2 separate regions of the Homo sapiens genome follow, and region 1 is linked to region 2. Evidence: promoter capture Hi-C in 16 types of primary human blood cells and fetal thymus (Javierre and others, 2016). All regions are on one chromosome and are shown on one strand. Each heading gives the region's core, a stretch centred on a gene start or on the middle of the fragment in contact. The rest is flanking DNA. Distances are from core to core; before and after follow the strand shown.

Region 1 (5,719 bases), core at 375-2,874, 340 kb after region 2:
ACACCACCTGTCCATCATCTGCACTGCACTGTCTACCTGCTGGCAGCCCGCAGTGCCTCTGGACTCTCTGGGCCAGGACAAACTCTAAATATTGTCCCTCAGATCAAATGCCTCATTTTGGGTATGAAAAGCAGGGATCCCCCTGTGTGTGATCAGAAACTGCACACAGCTAAGCCCTCATACAAATAAACTCTAAAATATCGCTACATCTGAAGTGGTCACTGGCCACTCTGTGAACCTGAAGAGGCCTGTGGATGCTCTCTGACCCACACCAGAGTGTTGGCCTTCTTCCGTTCTTCATGGAGGCCTTCTGCAGGCGGGGCCCTGGGATTTTCAGGGCGCTGGGCGTTTCTTCCATTTATGTGTGTAAGTTTTCATTCTTCTTGATTTTTTGAACCCACTCAAGAATGATGGGAAAATCTGCCCTTATGATCATAGTTTCTTTAAAAGTTCCAGTCTACTTAATTTTGCAGCCATAAGACTAAGAAGCGCACGGAGGAACAATAGTGGCCACTCAGTTCAGGAGACAGGTCCCCAGAGGAGATGCAGGCAGGCGAGCATGGCCTCTGTGGGGCTCTGTGCTGTCAGACGTCTGGGAGGTGGTGGGCCCCTGACCCGTATGTGCCACCCAAGGCCAGGCCAGGCCCAGCTCCCTCACTGAGCCCTGCTCCAACCAACTCCCCAGTGATGACCCCACTGCTCAGAGGCAGGTCTGAGAGGGGAGGGTTAGGGCCTCACATCTGAGGCCCGGCAGAGGCTGCCCCGTCCATTCCCCTGCCACGCGGGCAGAGGCAGCAGGTGGGGCCGACGAGGGGGTGGCCAGGCCTGCCCCTGCCCATCCCCAGCACCGACCACAGCAGCCCCACCTGGGAGGGCCAATCTCTTCTGGCCACTACGGGGACGACGTGGTGAGATTTCCCAAGCGTGGGAAGGGCAGAGGTGCCCTTGGCTCACCTGATACACAGGTGAGGCCCCACCACTGACTTTTCCTCACAGAAACAGGGTCCTGGCAATGGCAGTCCAGGGAGGGGGACCATGTGTCTATCTTTAGATCTCTTTGTTCCAACAAAACCAGACGACTGAAGCAAACTTCCTTCCTCTTGCAAGTTGACTCAAAAGCTTGCTTTATTTGAGGACAATTTCATCCTGAAAACCAGGAGCGGGGTGTTGCGGGGTGGGAGGGCGGCCAAGACGTCTGAGCAGTATCCCAGGCACCCCTTCCAGCCCAGGGTGACCTCGAAAGCAGCAGAGAGAACGGGGACTGGAGGCGGGTGGGCCCTGGAAATCCTCTCATGGTGCGGGTGGGGGGGGTATGGGGGGTGGACTGTCACAGGTGGAGGCAGCAAGGCAGCTCCTGGCAGCAGGAAGAGGCCCAGGTGCAGCAGGAAACCCCGTCCCTGGTGCTCACTGGTGACCGTGGGCAGAGGAGAGGACAAGTCTCTCCACACAGCAGCCTGGGGCCATGGGGTACAGTCCATCTTTTGCCAATTGTCTTCTTTTATTTATTCTGGCAAAATGCCCATTCCCAAAGGCTTCTGCATCCTGTCCATCAGACAGGACAGTCGTGCCTTTTCAAAGTCCAAGGCTGAGCGTCAGATGGGATTACGTCACCAGATCATCCGGCCAGAGGCCTTCCCGAAGCCCATCCTTGAGGATCTCCAAACCCAGGAAGAACAGGGCCACAGAGCAGGGCAGTAAGAAGAAACGCAGGCCACAAAATCGGAACAAAATCTAAATTCAGTAAGGAGGATGCTTGAAACCACAGCCTTCAGATAAGGACACCCCAGGAGGCCAGCATCCCCGTCCCCTCCAGACAAGCTCCTGACACTGTGTGGGTCAGGGGATAAACAGGACACCCTGGGGGCCAGCGCCCCGTCCCTGCCATTGGGACAAAAGGGGCGTCCACACCTCTGTTTGTGATGTGTGTTAAAGGATCTGTTTGATTTTGCATTCCCGATGTTTAAGGTTTATCCTGACTTGGTTGGCAGAATTCTCACTTACATTAAATCTCAAATATGTTTAACGAGCCATTTGCTAGTGGGTTAGGTATAAATATTTCATGTCACATACACAGTGACTTAAATCACATGGTTCACTAAATATTATTTTTCTGATCTCAGAAAGCTTAACCTTTACACATTTTAAAAATACAAGGCCCTGCCAGAAAAGATGGTCAAAAGAAGCGGTGATCAGGGAAACCCCGCTCCTACCGCAGGGGCGTCATCTCAGACGCGCAACACCAACCGGCAAGGGCCAGGAGCCGGCGGACTCCCACGTGGGGGGCAGGTGTCAGTGCACAGCCGCCCCGCAGAACCCTCCGGACGCCCTTTGGAGTGAGACAGTTTGCGCCTCGGGCAGGGAGGACTCGCACATCCGCACTTGGCCAATCTCCTCTGGGGGTCGTCTCCAGAGCTTCGCTCTCCGCTCTCCACGCTGCCTCGCCCGCCCGCCCGCAAGCCCTGGGGGCCGTCTCCAGAGCTGCGCTCCCTCTCCACGCTGCCTCGCCCACAAGACCTGGGTTCTCTGATGCAGGCGGGCGTAAGAATCCCCTGGAGCGTGTCCTCAGCACACATGGGTGTGTTGTTTGGGACCAAGCTCCTGCCTAGACCCCAACAGATCAGACTGAAAATCAAAATGAAGTCCCCACACTCCAAGGGAAACTGAGTTGTTATCGGACCTTGGAGAAAACAGGAGACAGAGGAGAGGCCAATCTTCCAACCAGGCCAGGCTCTGTCTTCCTCGGCGTGGTCACGGAGGTCCCTCTTTTTGTTGTTCTTGCTCTCAACTTGTTTAATATGTAAAAGGACAATCAAAACAGTGGTCAGAATTTCCACTTTTGATACATTCTTAGGATGCAGCCCATCCAGAGAGCATCACTTCAAATAGATGAAGAATTACCCAACTTTTTCTGTCTTAAAGACAGTTTGCTTAGATTTTAAAAAGACTTAATTCCATGAGTTACGGCACTGAATTTAACCATGAGAATTAAATATAAAAACATGGAGGCTCTGAGCTGCCCGCAGAGGTGGGACTCCTATGAGGGTGACTGCTGGAGTCCAGGGGCTGAGACACAGCCACTCACAACATTACCGTTCCCCTGTAACAAAGGGTTAAGACTTTATCATAACTTAATTATACATTCATTATGGTGCTTTAAAACAGTCAAGCCTAAATAAATTCTTCACACTGCCAAAAAGATACCCGTACTTGGCCGGGCACAGTGGCTCACGCCTATAAATGCCAACACTTTGGGAGGCCAAGGTGGACAAATCACTTGAGGTCAGGAGTTCAAGACCAGCCTGGTCAACATGGCGAAACCCCCTCCCTACTAAAGATACAAAAATTAGCTGGGCATGGTGGCAGGTGCCTGTAGTCCCAGGTACTCAGGAAGCTGAGGCTGGAGAATCTTTTGAACCTGGGAGGTGGATGTTGCTGTGAGCTGAGATTGTGCCACTGCACTCCAGCCTGGGTGACAGAGCGAGACTCCATCTCAAAAAAAAAAAAAAAAAAGAAAAAGAAAAGATACACATACTAAAAACCCATTTAAGCACAAAGTTTGTCACGTGACGGCTCTTGGTCTGGGCCACACGTGTGTGCAGGGATCTTCTGCTTCTTCAAGCTTGATGTAAGTCCGGCAATCACCTAATGTGAAACTGATCCTTACGACACAGAGCCGCCTGAAGTGGCCAGTGGGTCACGTCTCTCCCGCCGACTCCCCAAGCTTACAAAGGACAGTGACTGAGGCCGCCGAACCGCGTTTGCACAGTTTCTGCTTTCCTCAGCCCTGTCTGTACAGCCGGCCCCGCACTGCGTGTTTCACTGGAGCTCTTAATTCTAGTTCATGGAATGCAGTGCTGCCCCACTCTAGAATCGCCAACAAAGCCCAGTGAGATCTTTAAATTACACGGATTGCAATTTGATCTTCTGGCAGGTATTTCCTCTTTCTCCGCCTCACGGTGGCCACGGCCCACTCAAGTGATTTCAGAACCACAACGCAGGGGTCTCAAGGTGAGGCTCCCAGGTGACACGGACGCTGGGGTCAGGGGTTAGACCCCCGCTGTTCTCAAGGTCACACTGTCTGAGCCAGGGGCACCAGGAGGGTCTGTCATGCAGGGGGGCACTTGCCTGCTCACCAGCTTGCATTTTCATGAACGTTTCCTGACATCAGTAAAATGGCCTGAGTGCAGTTTCAGCCAGGTGGGCCTCAGCATCCACCCTACACCTGGCGGGCTCTGCACGGACCCTGGATCTGTGTGCACTCATGCCCTGGCTGGGGTGTAGTCACACCATACACACAATGGCTTCTGAGCTAGAACAACTTAAAAAATCAAGGGGCAGAGGGACCAGAGACCAAAGTGACTGAGAGCCACTGTCTGAGAGACACAGGAGGCCGGGTTTCAGGATGAGGGACGCAGGTTCCTTCCAGAGTTCAGAGACCCTGACCCTGCCACCCTCTCCCCCAAGGGCCGGGCTGGCTGCCGGCTTTGCCACCTCCGGTCACAGCCCTACCCGCTACACAGTACCCATGGCTCCGCTGCCTCCCCACACCCCGCCACAGACCTGGGCCTGCCCTTGGGGGCTGAGCCAAACCTCCGCACATGTGAGGCTCCAGGCCGAGCCTCCTGGGCCAGATGCTCGGGGCGTTCTCAAGTGACTGCTGAGTGGGCAGGGCTGGTGGCACCCGCAGGGAGCATTTCCACAGGGCCCAGACCCGAGGGTCTTCAACACCTTAGTGTCTCCCGCCAGCCCCCACTGAGATGCACACGTCTCCCTTTCTCTCCTGGAGGCCGCCCAGGGTGCGCCTGCTCTCCCAGCCACTGCCTGCCAGCGCCTTTCCGGTTCAGAGGCAGCTGAGCCCTCACATGGACCTCCTGTCCGCAGGAGGGGTCGCACTGGCAGCTGCACCTGGAATGGCTAGGGGTCCAGGGAGAAAGGGCATGCCAGGGAGACCCCCTCGGGGTTCAGATGAGGACCACCCTGTGCTCCCGGGGGGAGGATCAGGCCAGAAAGGCAGGTTTCCTACTCACACCTGGCTCCAGTGCATTGAGTGAGTCCTCGCGAGGACCTAGGGAGCATGAAGCCTCATCATCCTTGTTTTAAAGACGGGGAATTCAAGGTCAGGCTCAGCTGTAAGCAGCCCAGGACTGCAGGGCAGGCAGTGCCAGGACTGAGCCCACGCCGTCTGCTCCAGCGCCTGGGACCTTCACTGCCACGGGCTCAACAGCGAGGCTATGGAGAGGCTCTCGCAGAGGGGCTGGGAGGGTGCCGACATGCGTCTGTTTCCAGGCTGATGGGTGAGTGAGACCCCAGTGGCTGGGACAGGGCAGGCTTGTGGGCAGGAAGGCGGGGACATGGCAGGGCACGGCCTCCCATTGCACAGGAGTTGCCCAGAGTCACGGAAGATGTTGGAGCCATCAGGGAGCTTCGAGTCCGATGATTTTCGCTAAGCAGCCCCATTTACTCAGCTCTGTTCACTGTGCAGGGTGTTGTGAACGGAGCCCTTGGCTGGCTCATCACTTCCTGAGCTTACAGCTTCTGGCTATTTTTTCCAGCTATATTGAGAAAAATAATTGTATGTATTTAAGGCGCACACGTGCTGTTTTGATATAGTTCACGTTGTGAAACCATAGCCACCACCAAACTCACTGGTGACTGACTGTCACCTCCCACAGCTGCCATTTCCTTTTACAGTTAGAATACCCAACATCCACTCCCAGCA
Region 2 (5,305 bases), core at 2,022-4,521:
TATCTGGTTATCATAATTGCTGGACTCCCTTCTCCTCTGATTTTTCTCAGTAATCACATAACCATAGGGTCCCTGGCTCTCAGAAGTTCAGAGTGCTAACAAAATTGATTAACCTAAGGCCGGGCGCGGTGGCTCACGCCTGTAATCCCAGCACTTTGAGAGGCTGAGGAGGGCGGATCACCTGAGGTCAGGAGTTCGAGACCAGCCTGCCCAACATGGTGAAACCCGGTCTCTACTAAAAATACAAAATAGCCGGGCGTGGTGGCGCATGCCTGTAATCCCAGCTACTCGGGAGGCTGAGGCAGGAGAATCGCTTGAACCCGGGAGGTGGAGGTTGCGGTGAGTTGGGATTGCACCACCGCACTCCAGCCTGGGCAACAAGAGTGAAACTCCATCTCAAAAAAAAAAAAAATATTGGTTAACCTAAATTGAATAGATTTTTAGAAAGTACATCTGCCCTTCTGATTTTAACAGTTTTTGAGAAATACACATTTAAACACAATATACTTAATTTTAAAAAACCCAGTGGCTTTAAAGTGCTGAGAGGTTAGAAAGACGGGACGGGGAGGACATGGTGCATCCTGCTGCCCTTCCTGGGGGTCTCCTGTCCACGGGGCTGAGCCAGTGGGGAGGGGGCTCCCAAGGCTGGGAGCTGGGGCTGCCAGGGGAGAGGCTGCATCCTGACCACAGAGTGATGGCCGCCAAAGGTCTCCAGTGCACAGCCTGGCGGCCAGAAACGCTGATTCAGGGTGGGAAGAGGAGAGCTTGGGTGCAGTGGGTGGGGGTGCATATTAAAACAGCACTGCTGTCTGAAAAATGCATTTAAAGTCTCTGTTTTGTGGTTTTTTGGATGAATTTTTTTATTTTTTATGACAGGTGTCAGTCTGTTACCCAGACTGGAGTGTAGTGGTGCGGTCACAGTGACAGCTCACTTCAGCCGTGACCTACCAGGCTCAAGCGATCCTCCTGCCTCAGCCTCCTGCGTAGCTGGAAGTGGTCTGAACCACAGGTGTGCACCACCACACCTGGCTCATTTTTTAATTTTTATTTTTTTGCAGAGATGGGGTTTTGGTCTTGAACTCCCGGGCTCTGAGGATTCGCCCTCCTTCACCTCCCAAAGTGCTAGGGTTACAGGAGTGAGCCACCCACCTGGCTGAATTGTTTTTTAAATTATGGTAAAATATGCCTAATATAAAATTTACCATTTCATTTTCCCAAGCTGAAGCTCTTGGGAGCTTCCCCATTGTTAAGCACTGAACCCCATGTCCTCACCCAGCCCCTGGCAATCCCGCTGTGCGCTTGTCTCTGTGCCATCCCCATTGTCAAGCACCGACCCCCGTGTCCTTGCCCAGCCCCTGGCAGTCCCACTGTACGCTTGTCTCCGTGCTTTGGCAACTCCAGGGTCACATAAGAGGAGTCCCGTGGGCTGCGTCCTCTGCAGCTGGGGTCCTTTCCCTCGCCTCAGTCCTCAGGGATCCTCTGTACTGCATCTTGTGTGACAATTTCCTCCTTCTTTAAGGGTGAATAATATTCCACGCATGGGCAGACTACATTTTGTTCATTTATCCATCTATCAGTGGACCCCTGGGCTCTCCTGCCGCACGGCTGTTATGGGTGGCATGGCCGTGAGCCTGGGTATGTGGATTCTGCTGGGTCCCTGCTTTCAGCTGTGGGTTCCTACCCAGAGTGTGGATTCTGCTGGGTCCCTGCTTTCAGCTGTGGGTTCCTACCCAGAGTGTGGGGCTGGGCCCCTGCTTTCAGCTGTGGGTTCCTACCCAGAGTGTGGGGCTGGGTCCCTGCTTTCAGCTGTGGGTTCCTACCCAGAGTGTGGGGCTGGGTCCCTGCTTTCAGCTGTGGGTTCCTACCCAGAGTGTGGGGCTGGGTCCCTGCTTTCAGCTGTGGGTTCCTACCCAGAGTGTGGGGCTGGGTCCCTGCTTTCAGCTGTGGGCTCCTACCTAGAGTGGACTCTGCTGGGTCCCTGCTTTCAGCTGTGGGCTCCTACCCAGAGTGTGGATTCTACTGGGTCCCTGCTTTCAGCTGTGGGCTCCTACCTAGAGTGTGGGGCTGCTGGATCCATGACAGTTCTGTGCTTAGTAATTGGAGCCACCTGGTCAGTTATCTTTCAGGAGCCATGCAGTGGATGGTCCAGTCCCACAGAGCCAATGCCAGGCCACGCAGTGCAGACAGAAAGCTCCCATGCTCTTCTGTCTCCACAATGGAGATGGAGCCATCTCCTTTCCCACAGGATGTTATCAAAACATATCAAGAAACTTAGTGTGGTGGCTCACGCCTGTAATCCCAGCACTTCGGGAAGCTGAGGCAGGCGGATTAGTTGAGCTCAGGAGTTCAAGACCAGCCTGGCCACCATGGCAAAACTCTGTCTTTACAAAACAATACGTAAATTAGCCCAGGCATGGTGGTGTGTGCCTGTAGTCTCAGCTACTCAGGAAGCTGAGGTGGGAGGATCGCTTGAGCCCTGGAGGTCGAGGATGCAGTGAGCCGTGATTGCACCTCTGCACTCCAGCCTGGGTGACAGAGTGAGACCCTGTGTTAAATATATATATAAATATATATATATATATAAAATATATATAAATATATATATAAAATATATATAAAAATATATATAAAATATATATAAAATATATATAAATATATATAAATATATATAAAAATATAAAAATATATAAATATATATAAATATATATATAAATATAGAAAACTCAATAAAAATATTACATATAAATGAACACAGCTGGTCACTCTAGTCTGAAATAGCAAAAATACTAACTTCCCCTTGACTGATTCCATTTTTTGGAATGTTTAGAATTCCAGAAAAAAAAAAAGGCTCTTTTGTAAGAAAACACACAATGAGAAATAATGTGCTCTGAGGCATTGAACTAATGTTGGCCCAAATCTAGTTTTTTGTAAGCAAAGATAAGGCCTGGGGCCAGAGGTCGGAAACAGACTTACAGTATTTTGCAGCCGTTGTGGAGAGACCACAGGCGGTTGGGTTCCTCCAGAGCTGGGTGTACACCCATCTCAGCGTCATGGCTGGCGGGGACTGCTGTGAGTCCATCTTGGAACTTGTGCAGAAAGCGGCTGTCTGCTGGTGACCGCATGGGGTGCCTGGCGAACACCTCTAACAGAGGTAGGGCCAGTGGGAGCAGAAACCAGTGGAGTTGTCAAGCCGGCATTATCCTTCCTGCTCGGCTTGTGTCCAGGGTTAACGCGGAGGTCAGCTTCAGTGAGGCCTGGCACTTGGTCAGCGTGAGGCTTGGTTAGTCTCAGGGACCCACGTGGTATCCGGGTCCCCCAGCACTAAACAGCTTGGCCAAGGCCACACTGTCCTGCCAAGAGATGCCTGGGCGGGACAGTGGGAGGGGTTGGTGCTGAGGAAGGAAGAGGCCGGCAGGGATGCCTCCTGCACACACAAGCTGACAACTCGAGGTTTATTCAGTTCTCAGCTCTCAGCTCTCAGCCGTGTCCTTTATCTCTGAGGAGTCTCAATTTATTCTGTCTCCTTCTGTTTTGGATCTTTGAAATTAGGAAAACACCTCAAAGTTTTGTGTGCATTTCTCTCCACCTGTCACCCTGGGTCCTCGAGGCAGAGTTGCCTCCGCTACGCGCGAGGTCCGAGGTGCAGGAGGCCTGTGCTGGGGGCCGGGAGGAGACGGGCATTGAGGAGGGAGTGCCATGGCCTGGCCACCAGCTCTGGGGTCGCTCTGCTGTCCCTGACTCTGCGGGAAGGACGGTTAGGGCCCCTCTCCGCCCCGAGTTCAGGATCACCCCCTCCTTCCTGGCCCAGTGAGCCTGTCGCTCTGGCTGTGTTGAGTCTGCTGTGCGGCCAGGGTGAAAACCAGTCCGTAAGTCCCAAGTGGAACCCAGGTGGCCACCCTCGGGGCAGCTGGAGGGGTGGGAGGCTTGTGGAACAGAAACCCGTGGGTGATTCCTTCTGAATTTCCCACAGACCTGAACCGGACCTTCCCCGACAACGTGAAGTTCCGGAAGACCACGGACCCCTGCTTACAGAGGACCCTGTACAATGTGCTGCTGGCATATGGGCACCATAACCAGGGAGTGGGCTACTGCCAGGTGAGCCTCGGGACCCTCTGACGCCATGAGGTGGCTGTGAGGACAGGTCTGTCCACAGCTGCAGGCTCGGCAGTGACGGCCTCACGTCTCTGTCAACCCTGTTCATGAATTCCACGTCCTGATGCCCCATTGAGGCTCGGACGCCATTTCCCAGCAGGGAGGACAGGGAGCAGCAGCCGACGACCTCATTCCGGCCTCAGGTGGCGGGAGGAGAATCAGCACGGGACACAGAGGGCGAGTGCTGTGGGGTGCGTGCGCTGTGGGGTGTGTGTGCTGTGGGATATGTGTGCTGTGGGGTGTGTGTGCTGTGGGGTGTGTGTGCTGTGGGGTGTGTATGCTGGAAGGCATGTGCACCATGGGGTGTGTGTATGGGATATGTGTGCTGTGGGTGCGTGCGCTGTGGGGTGCGTGCGCTGTGGGATGTGTGTGCTATGGGGTGCATGTGCTGTGAGGTGTGTGTCGTCCTCTGAGGCCACTCCCAGAGTGTCTGCTGTCTACACTGTCATCCCCTGGCTGGCTCCGTGGTGTGAACCAGCAGCTGCAGTTGGGAGAGTCCTTGCGCCTCCCGGAGGCCACCTAGCTGGGCGCATATTAAGGGCATTGCTGTTAGTAACTAGTGGAGTGAACAGGCCGGAATGCAGGGCAACCAGGAGCCGTGCAGTCTCCCAGCCTGTGTGTCCTGCCTGGGCCTGTCGCTGGTGGTGCTGTTCCAGTCTGTCTGAGCTCGCCGAGGGCAGGGCAGGCATCTGGGCAGGGCTGGCCTCCACGAGGGTTTCCAGGTGTGCGCACAGCCCGTGACTGCCTGTGAGTCCCCGTGGCTGAGAGCCTGGAGCCCACGGCTGCCACCGGGATTGGAGAGTGCGTTCCTGGCATTTTAGGCCATGTGCTTCACGGGCTCCTAGGGGTTGTGGCTGGCTTAAACGTTTCTAGGAGGACAGGGAAGGACATCGTCGCGATGGGTGGTTCGAACCTAGCAGTCCCAGTGATGCCCCCAGAAACTTCCTGTAGGAGCCGGGAGCCAGGCGTGCACCAACCAGAAAATGCAGTTTGAGTGAACGTTTGGAGGAGTGTGGAGCCCCTGCCTGGACAGCCCTGGGCCTGGCACCTGGCAGAGTGAATGCTCCCGAGGAGAAAGGGTGGACGTTGCGTGAGGAGCGCCCTGTGAAAGGCCAGCAGCAGAGCCACGGGACCACGCTGTCCTCACCAGCTG

What was found. Contacts are between HindIII fragments. The CHiCAGO score rates a contact against its expected background, and 5 or more counts as called.
Region 1: a fragment that was not itself captured here is called in contact with the fragment with the promoter of GRTP1-AS1 in region 2 in 1 of 17 cell types (M2 macrophages); the score reaches 5.2 in M2 macrophages.

Annotation. Positions count from the first base shown.
Region 1 is chr13:113,005,708-113,011,426 of GRCh38, reverse strand. All of the region lies in intron 1 of MCF2L (MCF.2 cell line derived transforming sequence like), which reads right to left. LOC107984591 (a long non-coding RNA gene) reads right to left here. Exons shown (of 2, transcript XR_001750037.2): 2 at 1,091-5,552. Among named protein-coding and RNA genes, the nearest start is that of MCF2L, 39 kb to the right of the region's middle. The HindIII fragment of the contact is 1,005 bases long and covers 1,122-2,126 here.
Region 2 is chr13:113,349,639-113,354,943 of GRCh38, reverse strand. It overlaps GRTP1-AS1 (GRTP1 antisense RNA 1), which reads right to left and starts at 3,271. Exons shown (of 2, transcript NR_120385.1): 1 at 2,974-3,271. GRTP1 (growth hormone regulated TBC protein 1) reads left to right here. Exons shown (of 8, transcript NM_024719.4): 4 at 3,971-4,095. RefSeq lists enhancers at 4,050-4,710, 4,711-5,305. The HindIII fragment of the contact is 10,625 bases long and covers 1-5,305 here.